Regions from separate parts of the Homo sapiens genome. Here regions 1, 2, 3 and 5 are each linked to region 4. Evidence: promoter capture Hi-C in human tissues and cell types (Jung and others, 2019). All regions are on one chromosome and are shown on one strand. Each heading gives the region's core, a stretch centred on a gene start or on the middle of the fragment in contact. The rest is flanking DNA. Distances are from core to core; before and after follow the strand shown. Region 1 overlaps LOC107984536 (a long non-coding RNA gene). Region 2 has its middle 670 kb from the start of SLC6A15. Region 3 overlaps LOC107984536 (a long non-coding RNA gene). Region 4 holds the start of TMTC2 (transmembrane O-mannosyltransferase targeting cadherins 2). Region 5 has its middle 540 kb from the start of SLC6A15.

Region 1 (3,792 bases), core at 967-3,466, 1.4 Mb after region 4:
TCTGTAAACAATGTCACTGGAATTTTGATAAGGATTACATTAAATATTAGGGATTACTTTGGTTATTACTCTCACATATATGGCTAAATTATTTTTAGCAATGTTGCCAAGACTAATGGAACAAAGTCTTTTCAACAAACGGTGCTGGAAAAAACAGATAGTGACATGCAAAATAATCAAGTTGGACTCTTCCCTAATACTATATTAAAAAAAAAAACTCAAAATGGATCCATAGCCTAAATTTTCATAATATTGTCTTCCAATCCAGGAGCATGGAATATCTTTCCATTTATTTATATCTTCTTTAATTTCTTTCAGAAATACTTTGTAGTTTTCATTGCACAAATCTTTTACCTTGTTGATTAAACTAATTTCTAAGTATTTATTCTTTTTATTTTATTGAAAATAATGATTTAATTTATTTTTCATACTGTTAATTGTTAGTGGATCAAAACATAACTGATTTTTGTGTGTTGATTTTGTATCCTGTTGCTTTGCTGAAACTAGTTAACTTTAAAACAATATTTAATATTTTCTGCATATTAGATCAAACCATCTGTAAACAGAAATAATTCACTTCTTTTCCAATTCTAACTCCATTATTTATTTTTCCTTTCTAGTTGCTCTGGCTAGGACTTCCAGTACTATGTTGACTAGAAGTGGTGAAAGTAGACATACTTGCCTTGTTCCTGATCATAAGGGTAAAGCTTTCAGTATTTCACCACTGAGTATGATGTCCACTGGAGGTTTTCTTATACATAGTTTCTATTATGTTCAAGTATTTTTCTTCTATTCTTACTATGTTGAGTGTTTTCATCATGAAAGTGTGTTGAATTTTATAAAATTATTTTTTCTGCATTGAGATGATCATGTGACTTTGTTTCATTAATTATTTTAATGTGGTGTATAATGTTGATCATTTTTCACATGTTAAACCATTTTTGTATTCAGGAATAAATTTCATTTAGTCATAGTGCATAACTTTTTAATATGCTGCTGAATTTGGCTTACTAAGATTTTGTTGAAGAGTTTTGCATCAGTTTTTATAAGGAGTATTGGCTTGTAGTTTTATTTTATCATTGTTTGGCTTTGGTTTTAGGTTATTGCATGCCTTACGGAATGAGCTAGGACGTGTTCCCTCCTCTTTACTTTTTTTGGAAACGTTTCAGAAGGGTTGGTGTTATTTCTTCAAGTATTTGGAAGAATTTACTGGTGAAGATTTCACATCCAGGATTTTTGTTATGTTCTTGCGAGATTTTTGATTACTAATTCAATCTTCTTACTAGTTATACATCTATTCATATTTTCTAGTTCCCATGGTTGAATCTTGATAAGTTTGTGCTTCCAGTATTTGGTTCATTTCATCTGTGTTATCCAAATTATTGGCAGAAAATTGCTCATAGTATTGCATATATTTTTTATTTATGTAGGATCAGCAGTAAGTCCACATTTTAAATTTTTGAGTAATCGAATCTTCTCTTTGAGTCCATATAAAGGTTTATCTATTTTGTTTAATTTTTCAAGAAAACAACTTTTTGTTTTAATGATTTTCTGTATTATTTTTTCATCTCTATATATCTATGCTCTTTATTATTTTCTTTCTTCTAGTATATTTGGACTTTGTTTTTATTTTTCTAGTTATTTAAATTCTAAAGTTAGGTTTTTGATTTGAAATCTTTCTTATATTTTACTGTAGGCATTTATAATTAAATTTTATCTCTTAGCACTACCTGTGTCCCAATAGTTTTGTTTTGTTGTGTCTTCATTTTTATCTTTCTCTACATATTTTCTAATTTTCTTAGGATTTATTCTTTAATATGCTGGTTGTTTTATAGTATATTGTTTAATTTCCACCAAATTGTGAATTTTTCTGTTTCCTTCTGTTATTGATTTCTAACTTTGTAGCATTGTGGTCACAGAAGATATCTTGTATGAAATATATCTTTTTTAAATTATTAAGACTTAATCTGTGGCCTAATGTATGATCTATCCTGGAATATGTCCCATGTTCCTATGTGCACTTGAGAAGAATGTATATTCTATTGTTGTTGGATACAGTGTTTTCTATGTGTCTGTTAGATTTACATGGTTTATTATTTTGTCTAAAGCTTCTATTTCCTTATTTATCTTATGTCTGGTTATTCTATCCATTACTGAGAGTGGGTTATTGAAGTAGCTGACTATTATTATGGGAGTTTCTATTTCTTCCTTCAACTTCATCAACTTTTGCCTTATATATTTTGATGATTTCTTACTATGCACGTGTGTATATAAGTGTTAATCTTCTTGCTATATTGAAAATTTTATTAACATATAATGTCTTTTTTGTCTTGTAACTTTTTTTTTTTTTTTTTTTTTTTTTGAGACGGAGTCTCGCTCTGTCGCCCAGGTCGGACTGCGGACTGCAGTGGCGCAATCTCGGCTCACTGCAAGCTCCGCTTCCCGGGTTCACGCCATTCTCCTGCCTCAGCCTCCCGAGTAGCTGGGACTACAGGCGCCCGCCACCGCGCCCGGCTAATTTTTTGTATTTTTAGTAGAGACGGGGTTTCACCTTGTTAGCCAGGATGGTCTCGATCTCCTGACCTCATGATCCACCCGCCTCGGCCTCCCAAAGTGCTGGGATTACAGGCGTGAGCCACCGCGCCCGGCCAACTTTTTTAAAATTTATAATCTATTTTGTTTGACATTAATGCAGCTACCCCTGCTCTCTGGTGATTAATATTTCCATGGAATATTCATTTTCTCTTTGTATTTTTAACTTTCAAGCTATATGTGTCTTTGTCTCTAAGATAAATCTTTTATAGACAGTATATAGTTGGATAATTTTTAAACTAATTCTGCCAGTCTCTGTCTTTTGACTGAAGAGTTTAAATTAATTGCTGTTTAAAAGTAATGGCTGGTAAGGAGGGACTTACTTCTATCACTATGCTATTTGTTTTCTATAAGCCTTATAGCTTTTTTGTCCCTTATGTCCTGCATTACTGCCTTCTTTTGTGTTTGATTTTTTGTACTGAAACATTTAAATTTATTTCTCATTTCATTTTGTGTATATTATTTATCTATTTTCTTTGTGAGTACCATGAAGATTGCATTTAACATTTTGAAGTTATAATACTTTAATTTGAGTTTATACTAGTTTAACCTCAAAGCCTCTGATTGTTTATAAGCTCTTTTTTCCCAGCCCTTTTAGCTGTTGATGTCACAAAATTACATCTTTATACATTGTATGCCAAAAACCTTAAACTACTTTTTTTGGTTTATTAGTCTCCTAAATATTGTGAAAATCATAATGTGAAGTTACAACCCAAAGTTACAATAATACTGTTACAGGACTCCTTTGGGGCCACTTCACCAAGTGGAAACCCCTGTGGACACAGTGTCCTCTGCCCAGGGACTTGCTCATGGCTACCAAGCTTGCTCTGCCTGCTTGGCCAGGCAGGCTGTGCTTGGCTCATGCCCCAGTCTGGATCCCACGCCTGCCACAGGATCTGCATCCAGCCCGTGGCTGAACTGGGTGTGCCATGAGCAGCTTCCCTGTTGGGCGTTGGTGTTTAGATGAGGGTATGTGGCTGCACCAGAAAACTTGGACATGTCAGGAATCACGGAACCCCAAAGGGTGTTACAGCTGTTGCTAGGGTGTCCTGAGGTTGGAGCCTCAAAAATGTCACAGCTCTTTTGTTCCCCTAGGTCAGCACACAGGACTGTGTGGTGGCCAGTGGCTGGCTTTTTAACTCCCATAGTTGGTGGGCAGGAGTGTATGTACAGCTCTTTTCACATCTGCTGCTCGCAGCT
Region 2 (3,852 bases), core at 768-3,267, 1.6 Mb after region 4:
ATGTAATTGTCATCTTTCATTGGATGTTAAGACTCCAGAGTGATTTTCTTTCCTATATTATTTAATCCAGTCTATCTAGAATTTCTATCTTGTCCTTTTTATCATTTCTATTTCTCCTGAGAGTTTATATATTTCTTTCATTTAATGAGCCTATTTGATATTACATCATTGAATACACTAATAATAGTTGCTTTAAAACTTTTATTTGATAGTTTGAATATATAGTTTACCTTTATGCAGACTATGTTTTTTCTTTTCTCTTGGAAATGCATGCCATTTTCATGATTCTTTGTGTGTCATGTAGTTTTAGATTGTGTTTTGGACATTATGAATATTAAGTTATAATTATTTGGGTTCACATATTTCTCTGATGATTTTGTTTCTTTTATTTTTTCAGGTGATTTTCTTGCTTATGCTTAAACTATAAACTATTTTCACAAAAGGCAGCTTCAGCAACAGTTCAGAATTTTTGCCTCTAGGTGAACTACTCTGAGTCTGTTCTATGTATGCACGGCTCAGATATCAGTGAAAAATATAGGAAGACATAATTTGGGCATCTTTTCTCTGCCTCTTTTCTTTTTGAGTTTCCCACAATTATTGTTATGATGGTCTTCTGCCAACAGTCTTCTGTTTCCCCAACTTAGATTACAGGTTTTTCTACCAGTGATACTCCTGACACTGAAAATGCAATTAGTTCCAGGATAAAAGCCACAGAAATGAGGAGATAACTTTATACTGCTTTTCTCCTCTAAGAGTATACTATTCTCCAGTATCTGCCTGCTTCTATTAATATCTAAAGTCTTCAGGTTGTTTCCTAATATATGATGGCTTTATAGTTGTTTCCATGGTGAAGGTTCTTTAGGAGGGTCTTACTGCAGCATAATTGGAATTCTTAAGTTGAGAAATGTTTTTCTAAATGATAAAAGCCATGCAATTATTGCATTTATTTAATAAAAATAAATGTGATGCAAAAAAGAGCATAAATCTTGTTCAGTTTTCAATTTTTAAGAAAATATCTCTTTCAGGTTAGTAAGCTGTTAGTTACTGAATTATTCACAAGAGTATTGCCAAAAAGTGTTATTATAGTCAGATGTCTAACTGCACTAATATTTCCTACAAAATAGCTTATTTCTTAGAATGACATAAGCTATTTAATATTATACATTATACAGAATACAGAGAAAGTAAAACACTAAACAATGATCAAATAGTGGTATTCAAGAACTTGAAATTCTTGCATGATTTATAAGAAGCTATTTAGAGTTCTTATTTTGTAATTACCATTTGCCTTTGCAAAAAACTGGTATCAGGAAATAAGTTGTTTAAAACTTGAAATAATTTATTCACTAAATCCACATATTACTAGTGAACAATTATAATAACATTGTATATTATCATTTTAAGTTACTCACTTGTGCAAGTATTCTGTGATATTCAGAAAGTCATTTTTCACAGATGTCGTTTTGATCCTCCTGAAACCAATTTCATTCTACTTTGCCTGACAATATCAGTCAATTCAAAATGCTCTAATAAAATACCATAGATTGGGTGGTTTGGGGTGGTTTAAACAATGGACACTTATTTCTAACAGTTCTAGAGACTAGGAAGTTCAAGATTAAGGTGCCAGCAGATTTGGGTCCTGGTGAGGACTCTTCATGACTAGCAAATGCCAGCCTTCTCATCGTCTTCACATGGTAGAGCTCTTGTGTCTCTTCCAGTTCTTATAAGGGCACTGAGTCCCATTATGAGGTCTTCACCTTTATAACCACATCTAAATCTAACTCTAATTATCTCTTAAAGGCCCCATTTCTTTTTCTTTTTCTTTTTTTTTTTTTTTTTTTTTTGCAGAGTCTTGCTCTGTTGCCAGGCTGGAGTGCAGTGGCGTGATCTTGGCTCACTGCAACCTCCACCTCCTGGGTTCAAGCGATTCTCCTGCCTCAGCCTCCTGAGTAGCTGGGACTACAGGCGAGCACCACCACAACCAGCTAATTTTTGTATTTTTAGTAAAGACGGGGTTTCACCATGTTGGCCAGGATGGTCTCAATCTCCTGACCTCGTGATCTGCCCGCCTCGGCCTCCCAAAGCGCTGGGATTACAGGCGTGAGCCACAGTGCCCAGCCTAAAGGCCCCATTTCTAAATACCATTATCACATCAGGAGTAAGGTAAGACTTCAACATATGAATTTCGGAGAGATGAAATACAATTTATAGTACTGATTTTCCCTATATTATTTTCAAAATTATATAGCTTTAAATAGGCATTGCACAAATATCTTTGCATGTGTGTATATAAGAATAAGAGATGCATTCATAACATTTTTCAAACCCTCAGTAACTGATGGCTCAGATTCTGTTTAAAAATCTAATTAAGGTTGTAGATACTCACAGAAGGGCTTCCAAACATCCCTTTATGATGTCTGTTGTACGGGTTGTCACAACATGAATTATTTGGTCACAGTTTTTCAGAAAAATATAGATTATTATGACCTAACTTCTTTCTTCTTCTTTTAACAGGTAAATATAAACTTAAAATTACAAGTCTCACTTCTATGAAAAAACATAAAATAGAGGGAAAATAATTCTATCATAACTTACTTTAAATCTAGAAAAGTTTTCAAGAAGAATTTCAGGGCTATTATTTTTAACGTAAGACATTATATCTCATATCTATAAGAAGCAAGGTTATATTTCAGGCATGTTGAATTTTGGGTGAAATCAAACTCTTGAAATTGCAATAATGCAGTCTTTCCATTGTAATTTTTGTGATTTCGTTCAAAAGCATGTGGGTCTTCCTCATACCATTCAGTGTTTTAAAAGTTCAAACTCCTCACATTTGTTATATTTATATAAGTATGTTTTAAACACAGCACAATGAATTTGCCGATAACCCTCATAATCTGTCTTACATAGCTTTTGTAGAAATTATAGCAATGCTTAGTATGATTACTAAACAAGGTCATTTTGAAAATAATTTGTGATAAATGTAATGGAAATTGCTTTGAAAACAAAAGCATTATACAAATGCTGGTAATTATACAATTTTATAATTGTCTTATTCCTGAATTAGAACCACCAGCCTTTTAACTGGAACAGTCTTCTCTATGCTCTTGAAACTCATCAAAGCTGTTTCTCATACTATATATCTATATATTTGCCTATATTATTCCATCTCTCATGGTGTGTAGTTCCTTCTTTCCTCCATCAATCCATGTTCAATCACTACTTTTAGGATGAAGCGCTTGAGTTACTATTTTTCTCCAATTATTCTAGTATTCATTTATCTTACTGCTATATACTTTTTCTCTTATGCGGCAACGTATTCTGTGAAAATATTCATTTTGACTTGAACAAAGACTAACATATGTTTTAGTCATATCACAAAGCTTCTTTCTGTAGTTGCCATTACCACCTGAAAGAAAACTTCTACATACCTGGGGAGCTTGTTACAGATTGCATACTGCTTTTTTTTTTTTTTTTTTTCAGAGTCTCGCTCTGTCTCCCAGGCTAGACTGCAGTGGTGTGTTCTCAGCTCACTGCAACCTCCACCTCCCTGGTTCAAGCAATTCCCCTGCCTCAGTCTCCCGAGTTGCTGGGATTACAAGCTCCCACCACCACACCCAGATAATTCTTGTGTATTTTTAGTAGAGACGGGTTTTCACCATGTTGGCCAGACTGGTGTCGAACTCCTGACCTCTGGCAATTTGCCCGCCTCAGCTTCCCAAAGTGCTGGGATTACAGGCATGAGCCACCAAGCCCAGCTGCATACTGCTTTTAATTGAAAAAGATTTTATAATAGTCAGGCTACTTTTTAAACAATGTCTTAGCAAGTAGAGGGCTAATGCAGTTTAAAAA
Region 3 (3,896 bases), core at 668-3,167, 1.4 Mb after region 4:
TAGTTTATAATGTTTAGCACAGTGTTGGAGATGTAATAGACTGACTGGAATTTGGTTTATCTGAGGGTTGCTTAAATGCCTTTCAATTGACAATGACTCATATTGTCCATTTGTAATTTAAATGTGTTTTTATTTCTCTAAAACTGTGCTGATATTCATTACTAGAATGGTATTTAATAGGGATTTTGGTTGTAAAAAATTAAGGGTGATTTTTCCAGATCTTTTTGCTGGAACCATAGAAACACTAAACACTTTCAAATTCCCCCTTCATCCACATTCAGTCATCAAAAATGGATGGTTTCATATACTTAAAAATAAGCCCTGTTGGCCGGGCGTGGTGACTCACGCCTGTAATCCCAGCACTTTAGGAGGCCGAGGCGGGAGGATCACGAGGTCAGGAGATCAAGACTATCCTGGGTAACACGGTGAAACCCCGTCTCTACTAAAATTACAAACAATTAGCCGGGCGTGGTGGCGGGCGCCTGTAGTCCCAGCTACTCCGGAGGCTGAGGCAGGAGAATGGCGTGAACCCGGGAGGCGGAGCTTGCAGTGAGCCAAGATTGCGCCACTGCACTCCAGCCTGGGTGGGTGACAGAGCAAGACTGCGTCTAAAAAAAAAAAAAAAACCCTGGCAAAATTTAGCATTTTTATAAGTTTTAGTATTGCATAGCATATTCTAAATATGCATATATCACCCAATACTATTTTTACCTTTAATTAAATTAACTCACTTTTAAATTTTAAATATTTACTTAAATTTTGAGCTACACAAATGAATTTTGGTATTATTCAGTCAGCAAAGGCAATAAAAACCCATTAAGTTTCCATTCAGTGATTTAAAATGACAGGGAAAAAAAGAGCTACCTCGGTATTAATATGAAAGAGAGAGTAGCATTCTCTCAGGGAGCTATTGTTATCTGTGATGGATCTGGATGTGAATATATTGCATTTTGTCATATAAATATTTTCCACAGGGCTGCTGAATTACAATACTCTAAAGCTTTCCTTTTTCTCCATTCTCTTGCCATTACACACAAAACCAAAATCACTTAGAAACTCACATTAACTTAATATGTTATTTCATTCTGTTGATTGTATTTTTGGATTTTCCATTTCATGGAAGAATTGAATGCTTATGATAAAAGACATTACAAGTATCTTAGAATTGTGTGTATTAATATTTCTTAACATTTAATATTATTTTTGAAAATAAATCTTAAAAAGCTTCTACTTTGTTCATATTAGATTCAAGCAATAATCAGTGATATTATATGTACTCTTATTTATAAGTTATAATTGTTCTTTGACTAAAACATCACATGTATATATGAAAAAGGTGACTAAAAGATAAAAATTATAATAGTATAAATATTAAGGAATAAATTTAAATGTAATATGATTTATTTTATTTTTAAACACTAACTTTATTGTGTATCTTGAAATATTACAATTTTCTTTTAGGAGAGGAGAAAGAAATCAAATTTAGAATATCTACTATGTAACAGGGAGGGATGTTGTACATTTACTATTTAATGAGATTGGTATAGTACATACACAGTGAGATTGGTGCAGTGGTAATAATAATTGAAATAGCAAGAATTATGACAATGTATTTAAGGCTTACATTTTTTTCAGATGCTTTTCTAAATATTTTACATGCATTAAATTATTTTTCTTCATAATCAACCTCTGAGGTGAGGTTTATTAATATCTCCTTTTATTTTAATTTATTCCTTCCATTTATTTTGTTTATCTTTTAAAGTATTTTACCCTAATCTGATAAAATAATTAGTACTTCCTCAAGTTCCATAAGAATTTCTTTAATGTTTGTTTTTTAACTGAGGTTTTAAGAGTTGGAGCCTCTATTTGATTAAAAGCATTTTGTTATCAAATATTGAATATGTGCTGTTACATAAATGGTCTGACTTCCATTTCTAGCTGAACTATTATCTTTAAAATATAATTTCAATTTTCTAAGCCTCAGTTTACCTAACAGTAAAACAAGGTCAATAATAGTTTATAACTCATCAGTGTCAGAAATAACTCAGATTTCATGCATATGCAGTTCTTAGAAAAATATCTGGATCCTAGCACTTTGGGAGGCTGAGGCAGGCAGATCACCTGAGGTCAGGAGTTCAAGACCAGCCTGGCCAACATAGCAAAACCCTTTCTCTACTAAAAATACAAAAATTAGGCGAGCATGGTGGTGCGTGCCTGTAGTCTCAGCTACTCAGGAGGCTGAGGCAGAAGCAGCAGAAGCGTCACTTCAATCTGGGAGGTGGAGGTTGCAGTCAGCTGAGATCATGCCATTGCACTCCAGCTTGGGTGACAAAGCAAGACTCTGTCTCAAAAAAAAAAAAAATCTGGAACATGAAATTGATTAATACAGATGATCAATCATCTTAAATATAACAAAATTTTCTTACTGTAATGAGTGGTTCAATGGTTCAATTAAAATTTTAGATTGTTTCATGGAATATGTGTGACTTCTCAATCAGATGAAATGTGAAAACATCAAAAAGTTCATTCAAGCAGGATAACAGGGCTGTTTATATGAAACAATAAAATCTTAAAAAAATACTTCATATATAAGTAATATATGGAAAAGGTCTGGAACTATTTGAAAAAAAAATGTTTTTGTTTGGTTCTTCAGATGATACAGAATAGTAATTGGGAGATAGAATTCTAGGTTTTGATACATGTGATAGTTTGACAATTTAGAAACTAAAGCTTTATAAAAGCAATCATGGTATAGTGGCTGACTGGTTATTCAAATAGTTAGATCTCAGCCTGCCTGGATTCCAATCCTTAGTATAAATAATGATTCTGAAATTGCACCTTAGGAGACATCATAATTCTATGCATGCCCTTGCTTAAGTGAGAGGGCATTTTTAGCACGATTATTCTAAACTGTAAAGAAATAGTTCACCCATATAATGGAATTTAAGCAGCACTTTTTAAACTTTATTGTGTATGCAGCACCTGAAAATTTTATTAAAATACAAGATTCTGACTCAGTTGTTCTGAGCTAGAGACTGGGATTTGGCATTTCTAACATGTTTCCAGATGCTGCTGATGTTGCTGGTCCATAAACCACACTTTGAGTAATTAAGGACATATTGGAAATTATCCACCCATCGTATAGTATCTTTTCCATCTGTTTATCAGAATGATGGAATTTTCACCACTTCAGATTTATTACTTTTCATCTGTCTATTCTTGTATACAAATTTGAAATGGAAATGCCAGTGGGGACGTTTAGGAAGCAATTCCAACCTAGAGAATCTTTAGTATCAGCCAGACTTAAAGAAAAAGGAAATTTTGCTTGACGTGATTTGGAACAGGTGCACTCATCTTGAAAAAGCTATCTTTGGTAGAGGTCTATCATAGATAGTTGTCCTGGGATGGCTTTAGAAAGAAAGGAAACAAGAAGAGGCAGAAACATAGAGAAAAGAAATGTAGAAATCAGTTAAGTCAAACTTTACCCACCTTTCCATTTACCTTATGCAAGGTCAAGAGGACAAGTATTATATTAGTTTGTATTGCTGCCATTACCACAATTTACAAAACATAAGTATCTTAAAACAATACCTGTTTATAATCTCACAGTTCTGAAGGTCTGAACTTCTGAAAGTCTGAAGTCTAAAGCACCTTGACTGGATTCTCTTCTCAGGGTCTCATTAAACTTGAATCAGCGTATTATATCTGCTGGGGCTGTCAGCTAAGTCTCGGGGTCCACCTCCAAACTCACTGATTGTTGGCAGAAGTGATTTTCTTCGAATGCTTTCCCCACATTGTCCTCTTTACCATCAAGCCAGCAACGGTGGGTCAGTGGGTTGAGTCTTTCTCGTGCTTTTAATCTCTTTTTCCTTCGCTACCAGCCAGAGAAAGCGCTA
Region 4 (3,764 bases), core at 1,156-3,655:
TGCTTCCAGATACTAATACATACTATGAAGAAACTAATACATGGTGGTTGGATAGAGATTGATGGGGGAGAGCCTACTTTATTTCTGAGGTTATGCCATTTGAGCTAAGACCTGAATGGTGAGAAGGAGCTAGAGAAGGTTTGAGGAGAAGAACCTCATGCAGGAGGAAGAGAAAGTGGTTAGTTCCTGAGAAGGATGTCTGTGTTGTACACATATGAACACAACATGAAGCGGGAGGGGTAGTCTGGGCTAAATGAAGGCTTGGCTGGCCATGGTAAGAATTAGTTTTATTAGCTGTAAAACAGGAAGTTGTTGGACATTTAAAAATACAACAGGAAGTTGTGGAACATTTAAAAATTGGGAATGTATAGGTTTTCAAAGGAAACTTCTGCCTAAAGTTAAAATTGGGGAAGGGAGGCATTGCAGGGGTAGAAGTACGGGGACCACTTAGAGGGCTACTGCATTTGTCTATGCAGGAGATGAGGGCAGCTGGGCTGTGGACTCAAGTAGTAAAGATGTGATAGGATGTGTTTTGGAGGTAACTGTCCAGGTTTTTGTTAACAAGTAAAATGAAACGAGGAAGCTAGAAAGCATAGTAATAATGATATACTAGCTAATACTTCTGTAGCACTTTCCTGGTCCCTTTTAGATATTTTACATAGGTTAACTACTTTAATACTCATAATAACAGTACTCATAAGATAAGTACTATTATTATCACTGTTTCATAGATTAGAAAACAGAGTCACAAAGAGGTTGAACGACTGGCCAAAGATCGCCCAAATAGTAATAGCAGAGTATGCACTCAAACTTAAACATCTGATCCCACAGTATGTGTTCTTCCTTCAGTGTTCTAGGACACCATATACATATTTTATATATACTATATATATCTCAGCATGTAAGTGCATTGGAGAGACACAGAGCATCAGGATGGACTAACTGATATGATTTTCAAAATTTTCAAGTGAGCAAAGGTTATGGAGGAAAAGGGTAAAAGATCAGTCCCTACCTGTAAAGACATAATTCCTTTTATTTTTGTTTACATATATTTGTCCAGGGCACAAAAAATGTGCTACTGTGGATGGCATAACAGGTATAATATTAATAAATATTCATCATTTTATCTGTGTGTATCCAATACAGATTTCTCAGATTTCCTTGTGAAATCAGGGAAATATGTAGCTTTGTTCTACAGAAGCCCAGACCACGGTATTTTCTTTCCAGGCCACTGCTAGACACCCAGGGGGCTCAATTTCTTGCCACAGTTTCGGAGAGCTTGCTGGTTAGGTGCTGCTCTTGGTTGGAACCAGTCGGCCCGCATGCAAAACAGACCTGTCTTCCACACCTTGTGGTTACTATGCAGCAGGGGGCGCTGCAGTAGTGTACATCGCGGTGCACCGGAGCTACTCTCCTGGCCAGAAAGCCAACAAGCCGGGAGGAGGCGTGTCAGGCAGCCCTGGGTCCTCTTTGGTCTTGCAACTTTAGTACCCAGAGCTTGTTCTACACAGACCATTCTACACCATATTTCACCATGTTGGATGCTTTCCATCCAGTCCTGCCTCCGAGCGGAAAGGAAAGGGCATTAGCTTACTGCCTTACTAGGTTTAAGTATAATGCTGTACCGGCTTGCACTAGAGGTTTCTCTCCTGTGTTCTCAGGGTCAACCCGACAGTCCCTCTGAAACCACGAAGGGGTCCCCGGGCAGTTGCTGCGGGGTGTGTGTGTGTCTTTCTTTCCCTTTTTGGGGTCCTTTCTTTTTAACCTTACTGAAGGAGGAAACGTTTCTCTCCCTACACGTCTTTCCACTGACATTGTGGCCAACCGTAGGCTAAGAGCTGAAATCTCTCCTTCCTAAGTTGCCTCCAAGCTCTCCAATACTACCTCCTCCCCCCCATTTAGTCTCACACACAGTGTGCGTGAGAGATCGCCAGTGAGTTTGTGACAACCGAAGCTGCAGCAGTCGCCAAACCTGTTCTTCCTCTCCCGGTCTCAGAAGTCTCTCCAGCTGACCGGACTTACGCCTGGCAGCTCTTGGCACACACAGCGCTGTGGCTGAGATTCAGCCGTGCCAGGCGCTGCCAGGCAGCAGCGGGGCGACCGACCACCTCCTCCTCGACCTCCTTTCTCCCAGCTTCCCCTCCCAGGGTGCACTGTATCTACTCCTTTGGGCTGTCTTCCAGCCGTCGCCCTTGGGTCCCGGGGGCTTTCCAGAGTGAAATCGAAGGTGAAAGAAACAAGAGGACGGGAGGCTGGTAGGAGGAGCCTCCAGGCCGGGGAGGGTGGGAGGAGCCTCCAGCCCGAGGGGCAGGGTAGGAGGAGCCTTCCGGGAGGATCTGGGTGGAGAAAGGGGCTGGGCCAAGCCGGGATGGAGGGTTGGTCACGCAGGCGCGGGGGGCCGCGTCGAGAACCCCACGCGGGAGCTTCTGGAGTCTCCAGCCACCGCTTCTCACTTCACTGGAGAAGGGAGCTGGGGCTGGGGCTGGGGCTGGGGCTGGGAGGGAGCTAATAAACATTGAATGTGCAGCAGCTGCCTTGGCGGCCGGAGTCCGCCCGAGCGACACCGGAGCAGTGCGCCCGGGAGGCGGCGAGGGGAGGCGGTTCGCCTTGTCCCTCCCACCCGCGCCTCTTTCTCTCTCTTCCTCCAGCTGGTCCCAGAGCCCGGCTTGGTCCGGTCCCTCTGCCCCCATCCCGCACCCTTCCACCTCCTCCGAGTCCCACTCCTCACCTAGGACGCCCCAAACTGCCATGGGTTAGGGTGGGGATCGCGACCCGCGCGAAAGACCAGCCCTGCGCTTCCGCCGGGGGACGCGGAGCCCAAACGCCGCTCACCGCTTGCGGGCGCCGGGCATGGGGAGTGTGGTGTGAGCCCGCACCCGGGGAGGACGCAGGAGCTGCGGAGACGGGCGCGAGGAGGAGGAGAGGAGTCGTGGATTGGAAGGACCCGAGGGAGGGAGGGTGGGGAAGCGAGGGAAAAGTGAAGCTGGGAGGAGAAGGCGGCGGAAGGTGGAGATTGATGCTTCTGTTTTTTGTTGCCGCTGCTGCCCTCGCGCTGGGAGCCGAGCCGGAGGGAAGGCGGTGGAGAGATGATTGCAGAGTTGGTGAGCAGCGCTCTGGGGCTCGCCTTGTATCTCAACACCCTGAGTGCGGATTTCTGCTATGATGACAGGTAAGGGGCCGAGAGGAGGGGGCGACGGGCTGCAGGGGGCACACTCCGCAGTGGCTCTGAAGCTTCCCTCTTTAAGGCTCAAAGTGCGTCTTGGAGGAACTGGTTCAGCACCTGATGGTTTAGGCGACACGTAAACATTAACACCTAAATCAAACACCGGGGACGTGAGGCGCGCTGGGCGGGCCGAGGGAGTTTCCGCTCCTAGTTTGCAGCAGGTTCTCTCCCTTGCTTCTCGGCTGTTGGCAGACGCTTGAGTTTCTTAGCGGAAATCCCGGCAATTTGGGAAACTGTTTAATGAACGTATTAAATTAAAGTCTTAGGTATTCCTTGATGCAACAAAGCACATTAAGTGATTTTACGTCTGGTTGGGAGGAAGCCTCTCCTCGATCCCTGATAGATCCTCCCTGTCCCGTTTCCTTTTATTGATGGGACACTTTTATTTCCCGAAGTTAAAACACACGTTTGATAGTTGCCAAAATTGTGAAAAGGGAGATCGTTCTCTGCTTTAACTTTCCCTTTTAACGTGTATAGACTTTTACTTTGAGCCAAAATAATGCTGCTGATGGTCTCTCCCGCCGCCCTAGCCTCCTTCACC
Region 5 (3,589 bases), core at 334-2,833, 1.7 Mb after region 4:
AATAGACATCTACAGAACTCTCCACCCCAAATCAACAGAATACACATTCTTTTCAGCACCGCATCACACTTATTCCAAAATTGACCACATAGTTGGAAGTAAAGCACTCCTCAGCAAATGTAAAATAACAGAAATTATGACAAATTGTCTCTCAGACCACAGTGCAATCAAACTAGAACTCAGGATTAAGAAACTCACTCAAAACCGCTCAACTACATGGAAACTGAACAACCTGCTCCTGAATGACTACTGGGTACATAACGAAATGAAGGCAGAAATAAAGATGTTCTTTCAAACCAATGAGAACAAACACATAACATACCGGAATCTCTGGGACACATTTAAAGCAGTGTGTAGAGGGAAATTTATAGCACTAAGTGCCCACAAGAGAAAGCAGGAAAGATCTAAAATTGACACCCTAACATCACAATTAAAAGAACTAGAGAAGCAAGAGCAAACACATTCAAAAGCTAGCAGAAGGCAAGAAATAACTAAGATCAGAAAAGAACTGAAGGAGATAGAGAAACAAAAAACCTTTCAAAAAAATCAATGAATCCAGGATCTGGTTTTTTGAAAAGATCAACAAAATTGATAGACTGCTAGCAGACTTATAAAGAAGAAAAGAGAGAAGAATCAAATAGACACAATAAAAAATGATAAAGGGAATATCACCACTGATCCCAGAGAAATACAAATTACCATCAGAGAATACTATAAACACCTCTACGCAAATAAACTAGAAAATCTAGAAGAAATGGATAAATTCCTCAACACATACACCCTCCCAAGACTAAACCAAGAAGAAGTTGAATCCCTGAATAGACGAATAACAGGCTCTGAAATTGAGGCAATAATTAATAGCTTACCAACCAAAAAAAGTCCAGGACCAGATGGATTCACAGCTGAATTCTACCAGAAGTGCAAGGAGGAGCTGGTACCATTCCTTCTGAAACTATTCCAATCAATAGAAAAAGAGGGAATCCTCCCTAACTCATTTTATGAGGCCAGCATCATCCTGATACCAAAGCCGGGCAGAGACACAACTAAAAAAGAGAATTTTAGACCAATATCCCTGATGAACATCGATGCAAAAATCCTCAATAAAATACTGGCAAACTGAATCCAGCAGCACATCAAAAATCTTATCCACCATGATCAAGAGGGCTTCATCCCTGGGATGCAAGGCTGGTTCAACATACGCAAATCAATAAATGTAATCCAGCATATAAACAGAACCAAAGACAAAAATCACATGATTATCTCAATAGATACAGAAAAGGCCTTTGACAAAATTCAACAGCGCTTCATGCTAAAAACTCTCAATAAATTAAGTATTAATGGGACGTATCTCAAAATAATAAGAGCTATTTATGACAAACCCACAGCCAATGTCATACTGAATGGGCAAAAACTGGAAGCATTCCCTTTGAAAACTGGCACAAGACAGGGATGCCGTCTCTCACCACTCCTATTTTTCTGAGACACATTTTAAGGTCTATTGCTGAAACAAGTTATCTAAATTTATAATAATTTTATACTCTTGGCATAGGTGGAAATTTTTAAAAGTAAAGTAGATGAATATTTTCAATTTCCTTTAGTTTGTAGTCCTCTGTGACAAATTTTTTGAACATTAGAGAAGTTGAATGGTAGGCAAACTAGTTAATTGTCATAGCATCCCTTTTTCATTCCTTAGTGATATGAGAATTCTTTGTAGTCTCCTTAGGAAAGTGCACAATAATGTGTTCCATCCTCAGTTACACGAACGTAAAATACCTCTCCTGCCCTCAAATGAATTCCTTCTCTCTATATTACGTATAATTCAGTTTTATGCTAAAATTCAATTGAGAAAGAAATATGTAAATATGTAAAAATATTTAAATTAAACTTTTTTTAGAGCATGATAAATATGTCCTTAACATCTAACACATTTATTCAATCTGTCATTAAAAAATGCTATTTTTCATGGTTATAAATTTTATGTAGACCATTCTCAATAACAAATTTATTGTATCACTATTAATGTCTTCCTGACTTTCCACTTTGTAAAATATATACAATTCAAAAAAGCCATTATCCTGACCTTTTCAATGGTCACTCTAATTTTTTTTCCAATTTTATTTCAAAACAGAGAATATCCCTAAATCCTCTTTAACTGCAGCCCACTATATAAGAAGTATGTTGTTTTTAGGATAAAAAATATTATATTTAGCGATTTTGAATGCTACTTCTACCCCTTGCTTTGCTCTTCTACTATTATGCGTGTTAGTCAATTACAGTACACTGTCGAAACCTTTACCTTAAGGTCATTAAAGCGGTCAGACTTGATAAACACTACAGACATCAAAATGGTTATGTCTAATGAGAGTAAAATTATTTATTCATTTTTTACCTCGTTTTGTATATAGTTACTAGAATCAGATGCCTTTGATCAAATACACTAGTTTGGTTTTAACAGTTGTTAAAAAATTTTCAAGTCTCCTAAGGTGCTGTAGGGACACACTTGAATAAATGTGTTTTTGAATAATATAGAAATTTTGACAAAATTCTCAGTTTTTAGGCACTAAAAACCAGGGATGCAAAAATATGAATGAATAGTATTTCCGGACTTGTTTAAATAAATATTCATATAATTAAAAAATAATGCCAAATTTCTCAAGCTTTTGATTTTAAGTAATCAACTAAATTCATTTATTTTCCAAAAAAAAAGATGTTTTCTGTTATTGATGAGTAAAACTTATAAACTTTTTTATTACTATATGAGGTGCTTTCTTTTTTCTTTACTCAATCAGAAAAGAAGCCAAGGTTATCAGCCAATAGTCATGTGTTCATACACACATATTTTTATAATGTTCACATATCATGTAACCTTTGTGGCAAGAAAGTTAAGTCTCATATTCTAGCAAAACCTTCAGTTGAGGGCTCATAACTCACATTGCAGTCCATTAGTCTCAGATAAAGCTTACAATAGCAGACATGATTACTTAAACAGTTCAGGAATATATGATGAGGCATTACTCAGCCATCTAGTGTAAGTAATCATAAAAGATATGCCACAGTTTATTACAGTTAAATCAGCAAATGGGTCCTGAAGCACTAGCAAAATTATTTGCCTTTATATGCACATTCAACTTATCTTTGTAAGTAGAGTCTCATGAAGATAAGAATCATTGAAATTGAAATAGACCAGGAAAAAAATATAGCTTGGCTATCTGATGCTATTATTGATGTAAATTGTAATTTAAGGTCAGGAAAAAAAGAGTTTTACTTTCTCTTTTCCCCTATGAAGATGTAAGATGCCAAAACATCTTAAAAGTTGGCTTTGATTCACTTGCAGGTGTTAAGAGTTGAATATGAGTAGCCATGGTGATTGAACAAACAAAAAAGTAACGTGAATAAAGTATACCTTTGAGATTTGAGATTTTATATCAGCCAAAATATGCTGTAATATTTTTAAGATAATTTTTTAAAAATTGGAATGGATGACACAAAATCATAGATGTTATTTGATTTTAGAAAGTTATGTTTTCTATTTTTTGGTAAATGGTCATACAAACCCTTTTGTTTTTCTAAAGCCATGAGTTTTTATTTG

What was found. Contacts are between HindIII fragments. The study calls those that stand out against the background at their distance.
Region 1: a fragment that was not itself captured here is called in contact with the fragment with the promoter of TMTC2 in region 4 in 1 of the 25 tissues and cell types used here (mesendoderm cells).
Region 2: a fragment that was not itself captured here is called in contact with the fragment with the promoter of TMTC2 in region 4 in 1 of the 25 tissues and cell types used here (heart right ventricle).
Region 3: a fragment that was not itself captured here is called in contact with the fragment with the promoter of TMTC2 in region 4 in 1 of the 25 tissues and cell types used here (lymphoblastoid cells).
Region 5: a contact is called between a fragment that was not itself captured here and the fragment with the promoter of TMTC2 in region 4, in 1 of the 25 tissues and cell types used here (dorsolateral prefrontal cortex).

What each region holds. Positions count from the first base shown.
Region 1 is chr12:84,088,372-84,092,163 of GRCh38, forward strand. All of the region lies in intron 1 of LOC107984536 (a long non-coding RNA gene), which reads right to left. Among named protein-coding and RNA genes, the nearest start is that of SLC6A15, 820 kb to the right of the region's middle. The HindIII fragment of the contact is 4,144 bases long and covers 145-3,792 here.
Region 2 is chr12:84,240,183-84,244,034 of GRCh38, forward strand. No RefSeq gene overlaps it. Among named protein-coding and RNA genes, the nearest start is that of SLC6A15, 670 kb to the right of the region's middle. The HindIII fragment of the contact is 3,424 bases long and covers 306-3,729 here.
Region 3 is chr12:84,124,346-84,128,241 of GRCh38, forward strand. All of the region lies in intron 1 of LOC107984536 (a long non-coding RNA gene), which reads right to left. Among named protein-coding and RNA genes, the nearest start is that of SLC6A15, 790 kb to the right of the region's middle. RefSeq lists an enhancer at 3,666-3,896. The HindIII fragment of the contact is 3,410 bases long and covers 213-3,622 here.
Region 4 is chr12:82,684,501-82,688,264 of GRCh38, forward strand. It overlaps TMTC2 (transmembrane O-mannosyltransferase targeting cadherins 2), which reads left to right and starts at 2,406. Exons shown (of 12, transcript NM_152588.3): 1 at 2,406-3,169. The coding sequence starts at 3,087. RefSeq lists silencers at 1,357-1,436, 2,287-2,386, 2,957-3,006, 3,367-3,426 and enhancers at 1,867-2,016, 2,037-2,246. The HindIII fragment of the contact is 7,716 bases long and covers 1-3,764 here.
Region 5 is chr12:84,372,665-84,376,253 of GRCh38, forward strand. No RefSeq gene overlaps it. Among named protein-coding and RNA genes, the nearest start is that of SLC6A15, 540 kb to the right of the region's middle. The HindIII fragment of the contact is 3,472 bases long and covers 1-3,319 here.